Regions from separate parts of the Homo sapiens genome. Here all the other regions are linked to region 7. Evidence: promoter capture Hi-C in 16 types of primary human blood cells and fetal thymus (Javierre and others, 2016). All regions are on one chromosome and are shown on one strand. Each heading gives the region's core, a stretch centred on a gene start or on the middle of the fragment in contact. The rest is flanking DNA. Distances are from core to core; before and after follow the strand shown. Region 1 overlaps SLC39A8 (solute carrier family 39 member 8). Region 2 overlaps SLC39A8 (solute carrier family 39 member 8). Region 3 overlaps SLC39A8 (solute carrier family 39 member 8). Region 4 overlaps SLC39A8 (solute carrier family 39 member 8). Region 5 has its middle 90 kb from the start of SLC39A8. Region 6 has its middle 19 kb from the start of SLC39A8. Region 7 holds the start of SLC9B1 (solute carrier family 9 member B1).

Region 1 (2,700 bases), core at 110-2,609, 730 kb after region 7:
TCTTAATGTGGTTCACGTTGACTAGCGATGATAATACATTGCTGAGTAGAAAGTCAGAATCCTCAGCCCTGAGCCAGTGTCCTCATTTTCAGGGGCCAAATTGTTGACGTTTACCTTCTTCACACCTACAAACTCAACCATGTACTACACAGCTGTGAGATACAGAGTGGTGGCCCATCTAGTTAGAATCACACACTGTTGTAGACAAGGAGAACAGTATGCCTTGAAACTCTGGAGTGCACTGGGAGCCAGGTGATCACATGAAAGTAGTCTGCTTCTTTGTATGAAGTTCCAGAAACATCATTATGTTCTTTACCTCCTGGAAGGCTGTCCCTGCTCAGATATTCTCTGAACCATAGTCGGTGTCAAAATCAGATGAATTTGGTTCCAGACCACTGCAATAAAGTAAATATCACAATAAAGCAGGTCACATGATTTCTGGTTTCCCAGTGAATATAAAAGATATGTTTTCACTACACTATAGTCTATTAAGTGTGCACTGTCATTATGTCTAAACAATGACATTGATATCTTAATTTAAAAATACCTTATTGCTAAAAAGTGCTACTGATCATCCAAGCTTTCAGCAAGTTCTAATGTTTTTGTAAGTGGAGGGCCGTGCCTCTGATGTTGACGGCTGCTGACCAGGGTGGTGGTTGCTGAAGTTTGGAGTGACTGTGGAAGTATTTTAAAACAATGAAGTTTGCAACATCGATTGCTTCTTTCATGAAAGATTTCTCTGTACATGCGAGAACATGCTGTTTGACAGCATTTTACCCACAGTAGAACTTCTTTCCACATTGGATGCCATCCTCTGAACCTCTACCACTGCTTTGTCAACTACATTTATGAAGTATTCTAAATCCTTTGTTGTCATTTCAACGTTGTTCACAGCATCTATACCAGCAGTAGATTCTGTTTCAAGAAACCACTTTGTTTGCTCATTCATGAGAAGCAACTGCTCATTTATTCAAGTTTGATCATGAGATTGCAGCAATTCACTTCCATCTTCAAGCTTAACTTCTCATTGTAATTCTCTTGCTATTTCCCGTACACCTACCGTGACTTCCTTTACTGGATTCTTGAACACCTCAAAGTTATCCATGAAGGTTGGAATCAACTTCTTCCCAACTCCTGTAAATGTGGATATTTTGACCTCCTCCCATGAATCATAAATGTTCTTAATGGCATCTAGATTGATGAATCCTTTCTAGAAGGTTTTCAACTTCCTTTGCTGAGATTCATTATAGGAATCACTACTATGGCAGCTACAGTCTTACACAATGTATTTCTTAAATAATATGACTTGTAAGTCAAAACTACTCCTTGACCCATGGACTTCAGGAGGGATGTTATGTTGGCAGGCATGAAAACGACATTCATCTCCTTGTACATCCCCGTAAGAGCTCTTAGGTGACTAGATGCACTGTCAATAAGCAGTAATATTTTGAAAGGAATTTCTTTTATTTTTCTGAGCTGTAGGTCCCAACAGTGGACTGAAAATATTCAGTAAACCATGCTGTAAACAGATGTGTTACCATCCAGGCTGTGTTGTTTCATTTCTAGAGCACAGACAGAGTAAATTTAGCACAATTATTAAGGGCCCTAGAAGTTTTGGAATGGTAAATGATCATTGGTCTCAACTTAAAGTTACCAGCTGCATTAACCCCAAACAAGAGAGTCAGCCTGTCCTTTGAAGCTTTGAAACCAGGCACTGACTTCTTCTCTTTAGCTATGAAAGCCCTGGATGGCATCTTCTTCCAACAGAAGGCTGTTTTACCAACATTGAAAATTTGGTGTTTAGTGTGCCACCTTCATCAATGATTTTAGTTAGATCTCCTGGATAACTTCTCCATCAGAACTTGCTACTTCACTTGGCACTTCTATGTCATAGAGATGGCTTCTTTTCTTAAACCCAATGAACCAATTCTGCTACCTTCCAACCTTTCTTCTTCAGCTTTGTCACCTCTCTCAGCCTTCATAGAATTGAAAAGAGGGGCTTGCTCCTACTTTAGGGTATGTTGTGGGTGGTTTGATCTTCTATCCAAACCACTCAAATTTTACTCATGTCAGCAATAATGCTGCTTTGCTTTCCTATCATTTGTGTGTTCATTGGAGTAGCACTTTTAATTTCCTTCAAGAAGTTCTCCTTTGCATTCACAGCTTGGCTGTTTGGCACACAAAACCTAGATTTGGTCTATCTTGGCTTTTGACATGTTTTCCTCACTAAGTTTAATCATTTCTATCTTTTGATTTTAAGTGAGAGACATGCAATTCTCCTTTTACCTGATCACATAGAGGCCATTTTAGGATTATTAGTTAGCATAATTTCAATTCTCTTGTGTCTCAGGGAATAGAGAGGCCCTACAGAAGGGAGGAAATTGGGGGAATGGCTGGTCACCGGAGCAGTCAGAACACATACAACATTAATTGGTTAAGTCTGCCATCTTATGGGGGCACAGTCATGGTGTCCCAAAACAATGACAATAGTAACATCAAAATCACTGATTACAGATCACCATAATAGATATAATAATAATGAAAAAGTTTGAAATATTGTGAGAATTGCCAAAATGTGGCACAGAGGCATGAAATGAGCACATGCTGATAGAAAAATGGTGCTGATAGACTTGCTCAATGCAGGGTTGCAACAAACCTTCAATTTGTAAAAATCACAATATCTGAGAAGCACAATAAAGT
Region 2 (2,700 bases), core at 7-2,506, 690 kb after region 7:
AGTTTCATAGAATGAGAAGAAAAACTTATGGCTGGAATATTTGCCTCCTCAGAGGTCTTGGTAGATGATTCCCAGGTTATTGATTTATATTTCTCAGAATTATATTCAAACACAGTGTGCTAGTTTGAAATCTCCTTTCATTCACCTTCTTTCCTTAATCTACAAAATTAGCAATTGTTTATAAATTGAGTGTCTTATGTGTCCAAGGACTTATTAGGGGTTGAAGAAGATATAAAAAGGAAGAAGTCCATTCTCTGTAGATTTTTATGATCTTATTGAAGGAATATCCATTTCATGAGAAGATAATAATACATGGAAGCACACATTAAGTGCTAAACAAATAGATAACAGGGATGTCTGGAGTCTGGAGAAGGGATGGGTATAGCAATATTAGGCAGTGAAGATGGATTCCAAATGGGCCTTGCAGGACAGACAGGAGTTGGGTAGTTTGAGAGGAGATGTATCATATTCTAGGCAGGGGTCATGGGAGATGCAAAGTCACAGTGAAGTTACAATATAAGGCTGATTATAACTGGTTAGGATAGAGTATTCATCTATCCTTTTACAGCATGCTGAAGGGGGAAGGAATATTAGAGACAGGCAAGTGAGGTTCTTAAGTGTTAGGACTTTAGACTCTCGGCATAAATGTGTACAATTTTTTTGAGACAGGGTCTCACTGTGTCACCCAGGCTGGATTGCAGTGGCACGATCATGACTCACTGCAGCCTTGACCTCCTGGGCTCAAGCGATCCTCCTGCTCATCCTTCTGAGTAACTGGGACTACTGGTGTGCACCATCATGCTTAGCTAATTTTTAATTATTTTTGTCATTCAAGCTGGTTTTGAACTCCTGGGCTTAAGTGATCCTCCTGCCTTGGTGTCTCAAAGTGCTAGGATTACAAGTGTGAGCCACCATGCCAGGCCAGAAATGTGTAATTTTGAAGGTTTTTGTTTTTGTTTTTTTGGTATGTGTGTGTGCAAGGGTTGCAGTTTGGGCAGAAGAAGGACATGCTGATGGGTGATGCATCAGTAGAAACAACCTTGTGGAGTTGTAGGATAACCAGGATGAGAAGGGTATTGGATACGATTAGGTTAGAAGCTCCTAGCTCCTCAGTGAAGTGGTACATAAGGGCTCTCTCTGCTGGTGTGTCATTTTTATCTGCTAGATTCTCAAACATTTTGGTCTCAGGACCCCCTTGTACTCTTAAAAATTATTGAGAATACCAAAGAGCCTTAATATATGTGATTTATATCTATTAATACTTACCATTATAGAAATTAATGTTAAGAAAACTTGAAAATATTTAATTTATTAAACATAACAATAAACCCATTCCATGCTAATTTTATTTTTTATTTTTTTGAGACGGAGTCTTGCTCTGTCGCCCAGGCTGGAATGCAGTGGCGCGATCTCGGCTCACTGCAAGCTCTGCCTCCTGGGTGCACCCCATTCTCAGACCTCAGCCTCCCGAGTAGCTGGGACTACAGGCGCCCGCCACGAGGCCTGGCTAATTTTTTGTAGTTTTAGTAGAGACGGGGTTTCACCGTGTTAGCCAGGATGGTCTCGATCTCCTGACCTTGTGATCTGCCCGCCTCGGCCTCCCAAAGTGCTGGGATTACAGGCGTGAGCCACCGCACCCGGCCAAGGTGCACTCATTTCTTGTGGCAACTCCCCAGCCCTGAGTTGAAGAAGCAGCATGCCCTCCACACTTTATCCTCAGAAGGACTGAGTGGGAAACCCTTGGTGTACATCAAGGAAACAAAGGCTTTTGATCTTGGCAAAATGGGATAATGCCCATGGGATTCCCTAGCAGATGATGGGAAGTAGGGTGGCCTCTGCCCCCTGAAGACATGTCAGGGGTGGGAAGCGAAGGATCTAGATTGGGTGTCTGTGCTCTGACACCACACCACACTTTTAGGAGTCTAAAAGAACACCTTCTCTTTTCAAGACAAGACCTCGAAAAGCTGAATATGGAATGGGGTAGGGCTGGGAAACTTGTCCATCACTATGACAAAGACAGAAAATGTTGTAAACCTCTTTTAAAAAGATTGTTGTAGCTTTCAACATTCTTTCTTTTTCTTTAGTAAAATCTCTAAGAATTCCAGCCTGCCTTTTGTTTAGGGGAACCTGGAAAAAGAGATTTTAAACAAACAAAACATGACTTAATTTTATTTTTCTTAAAAGAAACTGAAATACAAGTACATTGTTAAAAACTTTGGCAGATATAAAGAAGCAGAAAGGAAAAAAAATAAAACCACACATAATTTTACCACTCAGAGATAAACACTGTTAACATTTGGAGCACAGATTTATCCTTATTTATAGCAGCATTCTCTATATATTGTTTCATAATAATCTTTTTATCCCTAGCAGTGCATCATAAAACAAGGCATCTTTATCCTTTAAATTGTATATTCAGGAAAAGCGTTCTTCATCTTCCCTTCAAAAAGAGTTTTGAGAGTGAACGTAAGTGTGTGTGTATGTATGTGTATGCATGTGAGTGTGTGTGTATATGAGTGTGAGTGTGCATGTATGTGAGAGTGCATGTGTGTTGGTGGCATCAGTGCCAGAGTGACTTCAGTAAGAAGTGTAAGAAAACCTGAGGAAAAATGGAAAAATTAATCTTGGGGAAACAGAGTTGGGGTCACTTGACTGGCCACCTCTTAAACCTAGAGATTATTTTTATAGAGTGTTCTTGGC
Region 3 (2,700 bases), core at 190-2,689, 750 kb after region 7:
CTACCCCTTCCCGTGGGTGCACTGACCCAGGGAGATGGGAGTTTTATCTATAAGCTTCTCACTGGGGCGGCTGCCTTTCTGCCAGAGATGCCTTGCCCAGAGAGGAGGAATCTAGAGAGGCAGTCTGGCTACAGTGGCTTTGCCGAGCTGTGGTGGGCTCCGCTCAGTTTGAACTTCCTGGAGGCTTTGTTTACATTATGAAGGGAAAACTGCCTACTCAAGCCTCAGTAATGGCAGATGCCCCTCCCCACACCAAGCTCGAGTGCCCCAGGTTGACTTCAGACTGCTGTGCTGGCAGCGAGAATTTCAAGCCAGTGGGTCTTAGCTTTCCAGGCTCCATGGAGGTGGGACCCGCTGAGCAAGACCACTTGGCTCCCTGGCTTCAGCCCCCTTTCCAGGGGAGTGAATGATTCTGTCTTGCTGGTGTTCCAGGCACCACTGGGGTATGGAAAAAAACTCCTGTAGCTCGCTTGGTGTCTGCCCAAACAACCACCCAGTTTTGTGGTTGAAACCCAGGGCCCTTGAGGTGTAGGCACCCTAGGGAATCTCCTGGTCTGTAGGTTGCAAAGACCTTGGGAAAAGCATAGTATCTGGGCTGGAGAGCACTGTCCCTCATGGCATGGCTCCTCATGGCCTCCTTTGGCTCCAGGAGGGAGGTCCCCGGCTCCTTGCACTTCCTGGGTCCTCACCCTGCTTCTGCTTGCCCTCAGAGGGCTGCACCCACTGTCTAACCATCCTGAATAGATGAACTGGGTACCTCAGTTGGAAATACAGAAATCACCTACCTTCTGCGTTGGTCTGGCTAGGAGCTACAGACCAGAGCTGTTCCTACTTGGCCATCTGGCCTGTCAGTAAGAATTCTTTAAGTGGTGTATTAGGCATAAAAATAAGATAGATTACTTTATTTATCTGTTTATTTATTTAGAGACAAGGTCTAACTCTGTCGCCCAGCTGGAGTGCAGTGGCGCAATCATAGCTCACTGTAACTCTCCTTCAGCCTTTCGAGTAGCTGGGAACATAAGCTCATGACACCATACCTGGGTAATTTTTTCTTTCTTTCTTTTTTTTTTCTGAGATGGAGTCTCACTCTGTCACCCAGGCTCGGCTCACTGCGATCTCGGCTCACTGCAAGCTCTGTCTCCCGGGTTCACACCATCCTCCTGCCTCAGCCTCCTGAGTAGCTGGGACTACAGGCGCCCACCACCACTCCCAGCTAATTTTTTTTATTAGTATTTTTAGTAGAGACGGGGTTTCACCATGTTAGCCAGGATGGTCTCGATCTCCTGACCTCGTGATCTGCTTGTGTCGGCCTCCCAAAGTAATATATTTTTTGTATAGACGAGGTCTAGTTATGTTGTTCAGGTTGGTCTTGAACACCTGGCCTCAAGCAGTCCTCCCCCTTGGCATCCCATAGTGCTGGGATTACTGGCAGGAGCCCCTGAGCCTGACTTATACCCCTTTTACTCTCACCTCTTGGTTCCTGGATTTGTGCATTCTCTACAGCAGAGATGACACCATATACTTGGCTGCCCAACCTATGAACAGAACTCCAACCTCTCAGGGTGTTATCTCTTGGCTTGCACCCTGGCTGAGGCTTCATCAGGACATTTCATCATTCTGTCAAACTGGTTGCTACTAGAGGGTGCAGGTGATGTGATCCATGAATTATATGTATTGAGCCCACTGTCTCACTTCCTTTGCTAAAAAATGGTTAGGAGATAGTTTTCACAGGAAACCTTGGCTATATATCAGTTGCACTATAAGTCCATGAATGATGGTGCTTGCAGAGGCACTGAAGGCAGGGAAGACATATATTGTATATGTCTATCTTTGTGAGTCCAAGAGCATCCCCTTATAATGGGAGGAATCCAGTGGAATCATTCTGCTACCACATACAGCCACCTGGTCCTCTTGCCCTGTTGGACAGTGATAGCTTTTTGGGGGCTCAGCATCAGCCTTGGCTTTTGAAGTTTGGGACTTCTTTAGTGCTGGAAAGCCAGATTCCCCCTGGTAGGAGAAGAGAATGCTGAACCTATATATATCCTCCCTCTGCACCACTCTGTGCTTTATATGTGGGTCCATTAAGCAAACATTTGGATGGTTGATGAAGGATACTGAGTGACAATCAGATTTTCTTGTTCACTTTATTACTGAAGCTATCCTCTGTGATGGCCTTTTATGAGATTTAGTGGAATAGAATTAGATTCACATTCTGTACTTATTAAAAGAGACTCTTCCATATATTCTTCACCTCCTCCTTTGTGTCCTTCTTGTCTGTCCTTATCTTTCTCCTCCTTTTAGTCCTCTTCCTGCTCCTCTTACTCATGCTTGCTCGTTTCCTTCTCCTTGTTCTCCCTGTTTTCCTTTTCCTCCTTCTCCACATGCTCCACCTTGTCCTCCTCCTAATCATCCTTCTCTTCATCCTCTTCCTCATCCTCCTTCTCATCCTCCTTATACTTGTCTTCCTCCTCCTCCTCCTCATGCTACTTCTCCCTTTCCTTGTGCTCCCTATTCCCCCAGGCCTCCTCATCCTCTACAACTTTCTCCTCCTTCCTTAAACTGTTCTGCAATAAGCCCATTTGTTTTCTCCATTTTAATTTCTAAGTACTTTTTTTGAAAAAAATTTTGTTTTTTGCCCTCCAATTTATGTTGGGATTCAACATAGTCTCCCTCTATTTTTTTAACTTTGGTGCATGATAT
Region 4 (2,700 bases), core at 127-2,626, 710 kb after region 7:
GATAAAATTACTGTAGCACACAAGAAGTGGTAAGTGAACAAAGAGTAATGGGAATCCTGACCAGCCAGGGAGTACTGCCTGGAGAGCAGGGAAGCTTCATAGAGGAGATCTTTGTGTTGGCTTGGAAGGCCACGTATGACTTTCTTAGGCAAGGAAGATAGGAAAGTGTTTTCAGACAGAGAACCACAGTGTAAAGGTAAAGCTCGGTTGGGAAAACATAGTGTTTGGGTAAAGGCCATGTTGAGAAGGGGGTAAATAACACTGGAGAGGCTGTGCAAGGGTCAGTTTATGAGGGGCGATTTCAAATGGGGGCATGAGATGATCACTTTTGTGATTTAGTATAAGTCTGTAGGCCATGTCAGCTAGTAGGAGGGGCACCAGATCGATAACTGTCATGTTATATAAGATGAGGGAGTGAGAGGTGATGAGGGTCTGACTTCAAGACCACTGGCAATGAGGATGGAGAGGCTAGAGGTGAGAGATGCCTGAAGCAGAACTGGTAGGGTTTGATCACCAGTTGTCTATGGAATTAATTGGTGGAAAGTGAAAAACTGAAATTGATCCTACTGTTCCTGTTATTTATGTAGGTAGTGAACAAGGGTAATGGAACAGGTGTTTGCAGGGAAGCTGATGAGTTTAACATGTGCATGTGGCTTTGCTTCTATTGGCACTTAACAATTTCTTTGCCTTTTAATTTTAGTTTTCAACATGTATATATCTTGTCTACCCAATGAGATTATAAATATTTGTTGAATGAATGAAGGCATGTAGGCTAGTGATGGATAGAAGTATGTTTGTGTTAAGAGAAATTCCATGTAGATCTACCACGATAAAAGGTGTGGAATTGAGAACTCTCTCCAAGTGGAATGTCTGTGGGGACTAGTAGTATTGTTTAAGGTGATAAGGTAATAAATGGGAATGAAGTGGGCTGTTAGGTGAAGTTGTAGGGCATGGCCAGGACCTGCAACTGATAGGAAAGTGTCTGGAGAAGATGCAGTCGTCATGGTCAGTGCTGTGATGATTCTCGGGGTTACATAGTACCATTTATAATCTGACCTTTTCATTTGGTACTTAGCACAGGTGACTTTGTATCACTCTGTGTGTGTGTTTGCACTTGTGTGTGTTTGTGTGTGTGTGGTGGCAGGAGCCATGGTTTGGTCCACGTCATCTAGGCTGAATGAACATTTACTAAGTTTGTTTATTTGTACATAGAAATTCTAGACTAACAATAATTATAGTGAACAATCTCGTGTTAATAAAGTATGTATAATTCAGGAAAACATTTTTACAGTTTTATTGAGTCCTTTGGGCTTTTGAAAAATGAGATTATCTCTAAAGGAATAATAAAGCATATGCTAAAAAATGTGGGCCTGGGAGCCAGACTGTCCAGGTTCAAAATCCAGCTTTCTATCTGCGTGATTCTGGCAGGTTACTTGAATTCCATCTGCTTTGGTTTCCCCAACTGTATGAAGGAGGTAGTAGTATTTCTCTTACAGGGTTTTGTGAGGTTCAAATAAGTTGACATATGTTGATCACTTAGCACAGGGCCTGGCACATGGCAAATGCTCCCTGAGCTGTAGGTGTTACTAGTGTACTCCACTGACAGTGCCATGGAGAAAAGTGGCCCACCATTTAAACATGCTTTCTGGATATTTTAAAGAAGTGGCTATGCAGAGGCAGCTTTCTCCTCTGTCACACTGTACTTTGTGTACAGTGTGTGGGGCCAGAGGCAAAGTCACATGTTGCACAGCCCTGAGGCCACGTTGTATCTCAGCCTGCACCCACACATAGGTGACTGTCCTGGGTATGTTTCACTTGTGTTCCCATTTTGTCCTTACACCAGCCCCTTTAAGATAGAGAGAGGGAAATTGAGGCCCAAAGGCAATAGGTCACACATGCCATTAGCTATAGAGCTTAGGATAGTATTCATTCATTTTATTCTAAGCAATACTTATTGTGTGCCTACTGGGTGCCAGGCCCTGGGTCTCCAGAGATGAAAGATGCACCACCTTTTTCTGTCACCAGCATCTCTTCTGTATGGAATATTTTTGCCTAATTTGTGTCTCACAGGGTGGGTTATGTAATGCAGCTGCTCCCTCCTGCCCCATGTGCTCACTTCCTGAGTGCTTATTGCATCAGACTGACTTTGATTCCCAGGAGGCTCCAGCTGGGGACCTGAGGTGCTGCTGGTGCCACCTTCTCTGAGGAGATGCTGTCCTCAGGAGTCTGAAGACAAATGATTGTGACAAACTCAGTGTTAGCAGCTATGGTCACCTTGAAGCTAGCTCACTGTGACCCATCTCCATCCCTGCCCTCCCACCCATCACCCCATACCTTTGTCCTGAGGCTCACACTGCCCCTGTTTTTTCTTTTTTTTCAAAATGCTGTTTTAATCTATTCCTTGAGCCATAGATGAAACTAGGTGGCTTGGAGCCTGTGGATCTCAGATTGTTTGTCGCTGTTCGCTGTTCTAGATGTTCTCCAATTTCCCTGCAAGCTGTAAAACTCATTAATCCCATAATGATGATTTAGGGCTGATTAAAACATAAACAGTATTACTATTAATGCTTGCTATGCCATATTTGTATTCTCAGTTTTCTATATACTTTTCATTGAGTAGATTTTGTTCTTTTAAAGAAGATATGTGTCTTAAGCTTTTAAAGACACTTTTAAGCTTAATGTACAGGAAAACATCATTTG
Region 5 (2,700 bases), core at 7-2,506, 760 kb after region 7:
TATTATTAGATAAACCTCATTTTTTATTAGACACAATTATTCTTTGGGATTACTGTTGAAGTTTATAAATGCTTATTCTCAATTTCCGTACCTAGTTCATCTAAAAAACTGTTGCTGGGCCAGCACCTGCCTGTAGATTCCCCTCCTTTGGTTTTGGTGCCCACTATCTCTCTGTCCCTTTGGCCTAGGGGTAGTAACAGCTCTACTGTCTTCAGCCCTGCGTTCATGTAGCATCACCTGTGGTTTCCCTGCACCCCACTTGCATGTTTGTAATCAGTCCCTTTGTAAATTAATGGACCTGCCTCACCTTACCCTCATTTGAGCATGGCAGTTCTTTGTTTCCCCTGTGGCTGTGATTATCAGCAGTAAACGTCTTATCCTGGAAGAGGAGGTGACTGTGTGAATTTGGCAGGAGAAGGAATACACAACAAGTGCGTATATGGGAGTGAAGTTGCTGCTCACTGAAAGCAAGGAGAAAATTTATGGGGATGAAAGATGATAAGCCATTATCATTAAACATTTTAGGGTAACAAGATGGCATTAGGTTAGATTAATTTGTATGATTAACTATGCATACAGAGAAAAATATCTAGGATGTTTTGAGAGACTAGTTATAAGTGGACTTATCACATTTCTGGCAGATAAGAATCTTTTGACTAGATAAAAGACTGTAACCAACTGTCCAACAACACGTCCTTAAGCATGAATCATCACGTATTTTTAAATAAAGACATAGATTTCTAGATAGGGAAGAATGAATATATTTTTATGATTGTTTATTGAACAGTTTATGCCTTATGGGAATCCTTCTCGTGTAGATGTATCTATAGGTCACATTCCCTCACTTAAAGCATACTATGAAGTGCTACGTGGAATATCTGAGTGAGAACACCGGGACTGCTGCTTGTGACTGTATTGCTGAGACGTTCCACCCATTCACAGCAATGCTTATAAATAGACAATGTTTTTTCTTTGGGAGTCATTGTATGTGCTAACCTTAATGGTGTTACTCTAATAATTATGTACGAGCTTGTTAATGAACTGGGAAACATTGATTTTAGAAGCTTAGAAACTGTGGAGGAAGGTGCTTCATATGGATCTTTCTACTTTTTGTATCTTTTGTGTTTCCATGAAAAAATCTTTTAATTTGTGAAAAGTAAGCCTCAGAATTCATGTCTAAGCATTTCGTAGAAGGATGCACGTGAGAAAAAGCACCTGCGCTGTCATAGCGATCCTTTGGTGTTTTAAGATGAAAAAGTTCAAAGCATTTTAGAATAGTCATAAAGATGACATTGTATAAGTTAGGAGCTGGGTTGTCCTGTCACTTTGTGGTGACAAAACTGGTGAAAGTGGTATTAAAATCATTGCTGGATATGTTTGGAGTAATGCACTTCTGTTGATTGTTTCTGCATACCTTGACTTCTGCCCTTGTCCATGTAAAAGCTTCACTCTTCCTTTTAGAAACTGGTTTCTCCCAACCCCTACTGGAGATTGTCAACCAATGCACTTAACCTCACCCATTTGCCACAAGCTGGGCAAGTCACCCAGTCTGGGTCAATTGTAATCTTTACACAGAAACTTCTAAGGATGTGGAGAGCCAAAACTCTTGCCTCTTGTATTTGACCCCAGAGCTTCTGGTGGTCATGTTCCTGGCACAAGGAGAAACCCGGGAAAATGAGATGGATGCTGAGAAAACAGTAGAAGCTATGGGGACTGATTGGAGAGAGTTGTGTTGTCTTTGGTTCTAGTTCCTGACATCCTTAGTACTTTTCAGTTATTTTTCTTTAGTTCCTTCAATTTTGTAAGTTACCCAAGTTATTCTAGTATCTCAGTATGTCCTTTTTGGCTTTAACTAATTTGATTTGGGTTTCTGTTTCTTGCAATACAATTTTTCTAATTAATACAGCAGTTAAATATTGAGATATTTATTTCAAACAAAATTCCCAGCTCTTGAATTTAGCAAAGTTCCTCAGCACTTTCTGGAACTTCACTATCAATGTCAGGAGTCAACTTCCTAGGCAGAGTATAGTAAAATCTCTATTATGTTCCAGTAGTGGTGAGCAAAAATCTTTCAAAACTCATGGATAATTTCTATTTATTTTTATTTCACTTTGGAATACATAGAAACATTGTACATATTTTACTTTTTTTCACTTAGCACAATTAATACATCAAAAGTGAAGGTTGTTCCTCAGTGACAACTATGAGAGGGTAACTAACATTTGATGCCACTGAAAAGTTTTGGAGCCAAAAGGGGCCTCAATCTATAACCTAAACAACCTTGAGTTCAGAACAAATAATGGTGTTGAAATAATATTCTATGTATAGAACCATATGATTTTTAAGAGCAGGAGCAGGATAACTGAGGGAATAACTTATATACCTTGACAAGCCATGCAAAATCAGACTTCATAGATAACTCCAAGGAAGATGTTTAATGTAGGATATGAATCTAGGCTACACTTCATACATCATGTTTTCACAGAAAAATGCAGTTTCCTAGCAACCATCACCTGGTTGTCAAGTTATTATTTGATTTTTACAGACATCTGGCTTTTTAAGGCACATGCCTCACTGATATGTAAGCATAATATCTAGGTTAGTGTTGAAATAATTATATTTCACTTTCTTCCAAATAATACTTAAAAATTAATTGTTCAAACTTTGCCTCTTTTTGAAATTATGATAAACCATTGTAGG
Region 6 (2,700 bases), core at 83-2,582, 660 kb after region 7:
CAGGCTTGTCTCAAACCCTGATCTCCGGTGATCCACCCACCTCGGCCTCCCAAAGTGTTGGGATTACAGGCATGAGCCACTGCGCCCGGCCAGTTTGTCTGCTTATAACTGCCACACTTGTGCAACTGTTGTTAGTATACCTGAGTTTTATTCTTGCAAAAATATGTCATTATCATTGCCCATTTTATTGCAAAAAGTGGCATATGAAGTGTTCAGCTATGTTTTTACGTGTTTCTCAAGTAAGTTTCCTTTTAAAAATGTAGGCTGGGTGCGGTGGCTCATGCCTATAATCACAACACTTGGGAGGCCAAGGTGAGTGGATCACTTGAGGTCAGGAGTTTCAGACCAGTCTGGCCAACATAGCGAAATCCCATCTCTACTAAAAATGCAAAAAATTAGCTGGGCATGGTGGTGTGCGCCTGTACTTCTGGGAGTTTGAGGCACGAGAGTCACTTGTACCGGGAGGCAGAAGTTTCAGTGAACCAAGATTGAGCCACTGCACTCCAGCCTGAGTGACAAAGTGACTCTGTCTCAAATAATAATAATAATAAGTAATAAAAATGAAAATGTAAACAAATGTCTTTTAAATAATTTTTTAAATTTATTTTTTCCAGAGTTTTATTTTTGGAATTTTGACTTTTCAGGATGGTGATTTTTGGGATTTTAAGGATTTTGATCTTTTGGGATTTCAACATTTGGGATTATGGCCTTCAGGATTGTGTCTTTTGGGGTTACGGCCCAAACCTGTATTATCCATGGGTTGAATCCTATAACACTGGAAGGTCAAAGTGAGAGAGTTCATCTTAGCCTATTGCTTAAAAAATTAATAAATTCTATTTTAGAACAGTTTTAGGTCGACAGAAAAATGAGCAGAGAGTTGCCATAAACCTCCTTGTATCCCTCTACAAGTTTCTCTTAGTAACATTTTGCATTATTGCAATATATTTGTTGCAATTGATGAGCCAGTATTGATACATTATTATTAACTAAAGCCCACTGTTTACATTAAGCTTCGCTCTTGGTGCTGTACGTCAGGGTTTGGTAATATATAATATATATCCACCACTACGGTGTATACTGAATAGTAGTACTGTCCTAAAATGCTCTGTGTTGTACCTATTAAGCATCCCTGCCTCCTCTCGGCCTTTTGGCAACTGCTGATCGTTTGATTGTTGCCATAGTTTTGCCTTCCCTGGAAGGTCACATAGTTGGAATCATACAGTATGTAGCCCTTGCAGATTGACTTCTTTCATTTATCAATATGCACTTAAATTCCTCCATGTCTTTTTGTGGCTCGATAGTTTATTTCTTTTTATAATATTCCATTGTATGCCTACACTACTGTATAATATTCCATTGTATGCCTATACTACTGTTTATTTTTACATTCACCTACTGAAGGAGATCTTGGTTGCCTCCAAGTTTTGGCAGTGATGAATAAAGTGGCATCTTATCCTGTTTTTTGCATTTAAACATACATGATGTAGTATTAATTTGCCACCGATGATGTACTCATTATGAAATTTTAGAAAGCGCAGAAAATACTTTAAAAAATACTATTGGTAATCTCATGCCAAATATAACACTAGTAGCTGTTATGTATATCTATGTTTTCTTTTCTTTTCCTAAATCAATATCTATGTCTGAAAGCTTATTTTTGCCTATATATGCCTCAATTAATTGTTCTTATAAGCTCAAGTATTATATTCTATAGTTTTGTATTCTTGTGTTTTTCTCCCCACTTAATATTATATGCACATCATGGAAGATGGGGTATTCACTCCCTCAAGCATTTATCCTTTGTGTTGCAATCTAATTATATTCTTCTAGTTATTTTTAAATGTACAATTAAATTATTATTGACGATAGTCACCCTGTTGTGCTGTCAGATACTAGGACTTATTCATTAATTTTAATTATTTTTTTGTACCTATTAACCATCCCCTCCCCTTCTCCTCCCCACCACCCGGCAACCTGTTTTGTTCATCGATGATTCTTCAGTACACAGAAGAGTGTCTACTAGGCACCCCAAAAATATCTGTTGAATAAGTGAAGGAATTGTATTTTTGAAATTTGCATGATCTCGTTAGCTATTCTTTGGAATCAAACCAAAGTTTACTTGTAGTAAAAGTTATTGCCTGTTAAATTGAGAATCAAAATAATCATGCAGTCTTACAGTGTTTTTAAGGAACTGATTTCTATAGTGGCTTTCTCATATAGTTAGTGATGGCAATGTTTTTACCAGCTCATCATTAGCATGTTCTGCAACTTGAGGGTTTTTCAGTGATGGGGTAATATTGTTCCTGCCCTGCCCCTTCTCTTGAGAATAATGGCACACGGTTGCTAAGAGGCTGGTAGGGATTAAGCATTCTCTTGAGCAAAACAACACTGGTTTGTGCTGGAAATAACTTTAACTTGGTGGTAGCAATGCGCTGCTGACAGGGTCCCAGCTAGAACATGCATTCTTCACCATCTTGAGGCTTCCTTGATGAGAACCACTCACTGAGAGCAGTTTGTAAGGTTCATCAAGGCTGTGCCTTGCCCTCCATGTATTTCCTGTAGATTTCCTGGGAAACCAACCTCTTCACTTCAGCTGACCTGAAATCCCCACAGGTCCGCTCAAATGCTGTATTTGTTTGCATCCAACAAAGTGGAAGTATAGGGAGTGTCAGTAATAACATACTGTTTACATGGGTGATA
Region 7 (2,700 bases), core at 17-2,516:
ATAACACGTTGAAGGAGGGAAGGTGTTAAAAACAATAAAAAGGGCAGGGCTGTGGTGGCTCACGCTTGTAATCCCAGTACTGTGGGAAGCCAAGACGGGCAGATCACTTAAGTCCAGGAGTTCAAGTCCTCCTGGGCAATATGTGAAACTCCTCTCTACTAAAAATACAAAAATTAGCCGGGGGTAGTGGTGCCCACCTGTAGTCCCAGCTACTCAGGAGGCAGGAGGATCGCTTGAACCAAGGAGGAGGAGGCTGCAGGGAGCCTAGATCGCACTGCACTCCAGCCGGGGTAATAGAGTGAGACCCTGTCTCAACAACGTCAACAAAACCAATAAAAAGATAATTTCGTATTTAAGTTACCCAAGAAGGAACGGTAATTTGGATCAGATCTTAGATGATGACTAAGAAAAAGAACACTCCGGTAGAGGAATTAACTTTACAGAACGCACTGAGGCAAAAAGGAATACAGTGTTCAAGAGTAAACATTGAGTGTCAGGAGAAACATTAGATAGGAAAGGGCAGTTTGTCTTTCTAAGAAGTTTACACTTTCTCCAATAACAGTTGTTTTTGTCTTTTATAGGAAGCGCGGATTCTATTACTGGAAACTTTGGGACTGAAAGGCCAAAGCTTCTGGGCCCACCATCAACGCAGCTCCGCTTTCATTTCTTTCACATACAACTTTCCACATAAGATTTCATGCGGAAAAAAAAAAAAAACTCACAAAGGTTTTATACTGATAACAGTATATTAAGTGTTTACTTTGTACACAGCGTCTTTGTTCCAGACACTTGCCATGTCTCATTTATTCTCACACCACCACCACAGCGTCCTTTACAGATGAGAAGACAACCTCAGGGAGACGATGTATTTGCCTAGGTCCCATAGCTAGCAAGTGACAGCGCTGCAGTTTAAGCTCAGGCCGTCTTGGGGAGAGACCGTGCTCTTCTACCATTGCACTTTAAGCTGACTTTAGGGGAAACACAATCTGAGTTTTGACAAGTTTACTTCTGGCACATGCAGTCCCGAGCACTGCTTTTTGGCTAAAATGCCCAGTGATGTCAACTCTGTCCCTGGATTTCTACAACCCGATGAGTCAATATTCAGAAGAGACGTCGAAAGGAAAGGGTTCAATAGACAGAAAACACACCAGACAGTCCCAGAAACCCCAGAACCCTCGCCTCTGCCGGCGCGGACAGCCAAGACGTCACTTAAACGCGCTGCCGCCTCCTCGCCCCGCCCCGCCCCTGCGCGGAAGTCTATCCGGGCTTTCGCGTCACCACCCTGCCCACCTGGGTGGCGCGTGGCTTACGCAACGGTCACTGGGCTCCTGGGCCGCTCCCGGGCCAGCGAGGGCTGCGAAAGAAGTTGTAGGTACGGCCCATTTTTCTTAACGCCGCCCTTCCAAGCCCTTTGGCGCTAGTCCCGGGTCTGCCGCGATCGTTTCCTTGCGGTAGGCCGCAGGAGGGCCTTTCCTCCCCCTCAGTTCAATGGGATTCTTGGGCTCTTCTCCCAGACGCTGAGGGAACAGCCACAGACATTGTCTCTCCTCTCCGTGACTCCTTTCCTTACTCCGTCATCCCACATCTCTCTTGTTTGTTCTCTTTTCCTCCTGTTTTTCTTATTTTACAAATACTCGCCAGTAAGAAAGAAGAGATCTGTCAGTTAAGATTGACCTCAAAATTAATTTTATTAAGCGTGTACTATTTTACAAACGGTGGATCCCTGCAAATAAACCTTCACATACATGCTCCTGCGACTGGAGATTCTGGGATTGGTTGCCGATCCTGAGAAAGCTCTCTTCCCCCACCCACCCACATCCACGCCCCTTAATCCTGTTTACTCCTCTTGGCTTTAACCCAGGGGACAAGCACTTCCAGCAGTCCCCAACCTTTTTGGCACCAGGGATCAGTTTCATGGAAGACAGTTTGGGGTGGGGGGCAAGATGGGATGACACTCTTCTATCTCAGATCATCAGGCATTAGATTCTCTTGAGAAGGCGCAATTTAGATCCCTCACATGCGCAGTTCATAATCAGGTCTGTGCTCCTATGAGAATCTAATGCCTTTGCTCATCTGACAGGAGCTGGAGCTCAGGCATAATCCTCTAGCCCTGCTCACCTGCTGTGTGGCCTGTTCCTAATAGGCCACAAACCTGTACCTGTCTGCTGCCCAGGGGTTGGGGATCCCTGCTTTAGACCAGTGCTTTTGAAGGAAAAAGGAAAGTTGCACACATACTGTGTCTGTCACATCAATCAGTAGTGTTACAAGAGCTCTTCACGGGACCATACCAGGTCCCTCACTCCCCCTCTATGGGTGTCCTAGAGCCTGTGAAATAACAGATTTGGTGATGTGGGGAGACAACTGGCCCAGGTGGCACTGAGGGAGGCCACACCCCACTCTCTGATTTTCCTTAGAGATAAATATAATTATGTGTGCAACAGAAGCATGAAAAATGACACTTATTATTGTCACCCCTAGAGAATTCATGCCCCAAATATTTTAGTCACTGTGTGCCTATGAAAAGGGCATTCATAGGTATTGTCCCCTGTGAGTACCAGAATTTTTTTTAACTTACTTTTTAAAATTCTATACAGATTTAGTTAGTACAAGTTCAGTTTTGTTGTGTGGATATATTGCACAGTGGTGAAGTCTGGGCTTTTAGAGTACCAGAATTTATACTGCTGTTTTTCAGTTGGCTCT

The links. The method cuts DNA at HindIII sites, captures the fragments that hold promoters and counts their contacts. A CHiCAGO score of 5 or more calls a contact.
Region 1: a contact is called between a fragment that was not itself captured here and the fragment with the promoter of SLC9B1 in region 7, in 7 of 17 cell types (activated CD4 T cells, naive CD8 T cells, naive CD4 T cells and 4 more). The highest score is 8.0, in activated CD4 T cells.
Region 2: a fragment that was not itself captured here is called in contact with the fragment with the promoter of SLC9B1 in region 7 in 2 of 17 cell types (non-activated CD4 T cells and activated CD4 T cells); the score reaches 7.8 in non-activated CD4 T cells.
Region 3: a contact is called between a fragment that was not itself captured here and the fragment with the promoter of SLC9B1 in region 7, in 1 of 17 cell types (total CD8 T cells). The highest score is 5.3, in total CD8 T cells.
Region 4: a contact is called between a fragment that was not itself captured here and the fragment with the promoter of SLC9B1 in region 7, in 9 of 17 cell types (non-activated CD4 T cells, total CD4 T cells, total CD8 T cells and 6 more). The highest score is 12.6, in non-activated CD4 T cells.
Region 5: a contact is called between a fragment that was not itself captured here and the fragment with the promoter of SLC9B1 in region 7, in 1 of 17 cell types (M2 macrophages). The highest score is 5.7, in M2 macrophages.
Region 6: a contact is called between a fragment that was not itself captured here and the fragment with the promoter of SLC9B1 in region 7, in 10 of 17 cell types (monocytes, non-activated CD4 T cells, total CD4 T cells and 7 more). The highest score is 11.1, in monocytes.

The regions. Positions count from the first base shown.
Region 1 is chr4:102,288,063-102,290,762 of GRCh38, reverse strand. All of the region lies in intron 6 of SLC39A8 (solute carrier family 39 member 8), which reads left to right. Among named protein-coding and RNA genes, the nearest start is that of SLC39A8, 56 kb to the left of the region's middle. The HindIII fragment of the contact is 684 bases long and covers 1,018-1,701 here.
Region 2 is chr4:102,325,223-102,327,922 of GRCh38, reverse strand. The region is part of intron 2 of SLC39A8 (solute carrier family 39 member 8); the gene reads left to right. Among named protein-coding and RNA genes, the nearest start is that of SLC39A8, 19 kb to the left of the region's middle. The HindIII fragment of the contact is 8,294 bases long and covers 1-2,700 here.
Region 3 is chr4:102,270,807-102,273,506 of GRCh38, reverse strand. All of the region lies in intron 6 of SLC39A8 (solute carrier family 39 member 8), which reads left to right. Among named protein-coding and RNA genes, the nearest start is that of SLC39A8, 73 kb to the left of the region's middle. The HindIII fragment of the contact is 2,766 bases long and covers 57-2,700 here.
Region 4 is chr4:102,307,654-102,310,353 of GRCh38, reverse strand. All of the region lies in intron 3 of SLC39A8 (solute carrier family 39 member 8), which reads left to right. Among named protein-coding and RNA genes, the nearest start is that of SLC39A8, 36 kb to the left of the region's middle. The HindIII fragment of the contact is 2,560 bases long and covers 97-2,656 here.
Region 5 is chr4:102,254,433-102,257,132 of GRCh38, reverse strand. It overlaps a transcript of SLC39A8 not described here. Among named protein-coding and RNA genes, the nearest start is that of SLC39A8, 90 kb to the left of the region's middle. The HindIII fragment of the contact is 379 bases long and covers 1,067-1,445 here.
Region 6 is chr4:102,363,300-102,365,999 of GRCh38, reverse strand. No RefSeq gene overlaps it. Among named protein-coding and RNA genes, the nearest start is that of SLC39A8, 19 kb to the right of the region's middle. The HindIII fragment of the contact is 640 bases long and covers 1,013-1,652 here.
Region 7 is chr4:103,018,271-103,020,970 of GRCh38, reverse strand. SLC9B1 (solute carrier family 9 member B1) reads left to right here and starts at 1,266. Exons shown (of 12, transcript NM_139173.4): 1 at 1,266-1,372. It also overlaps a transcript of SLC9B2 not described here. RefSeq lists an enhancer at 925-1,425. The HindIII fragment of the contact is 6,332 bases long and covers 631-2,700 here.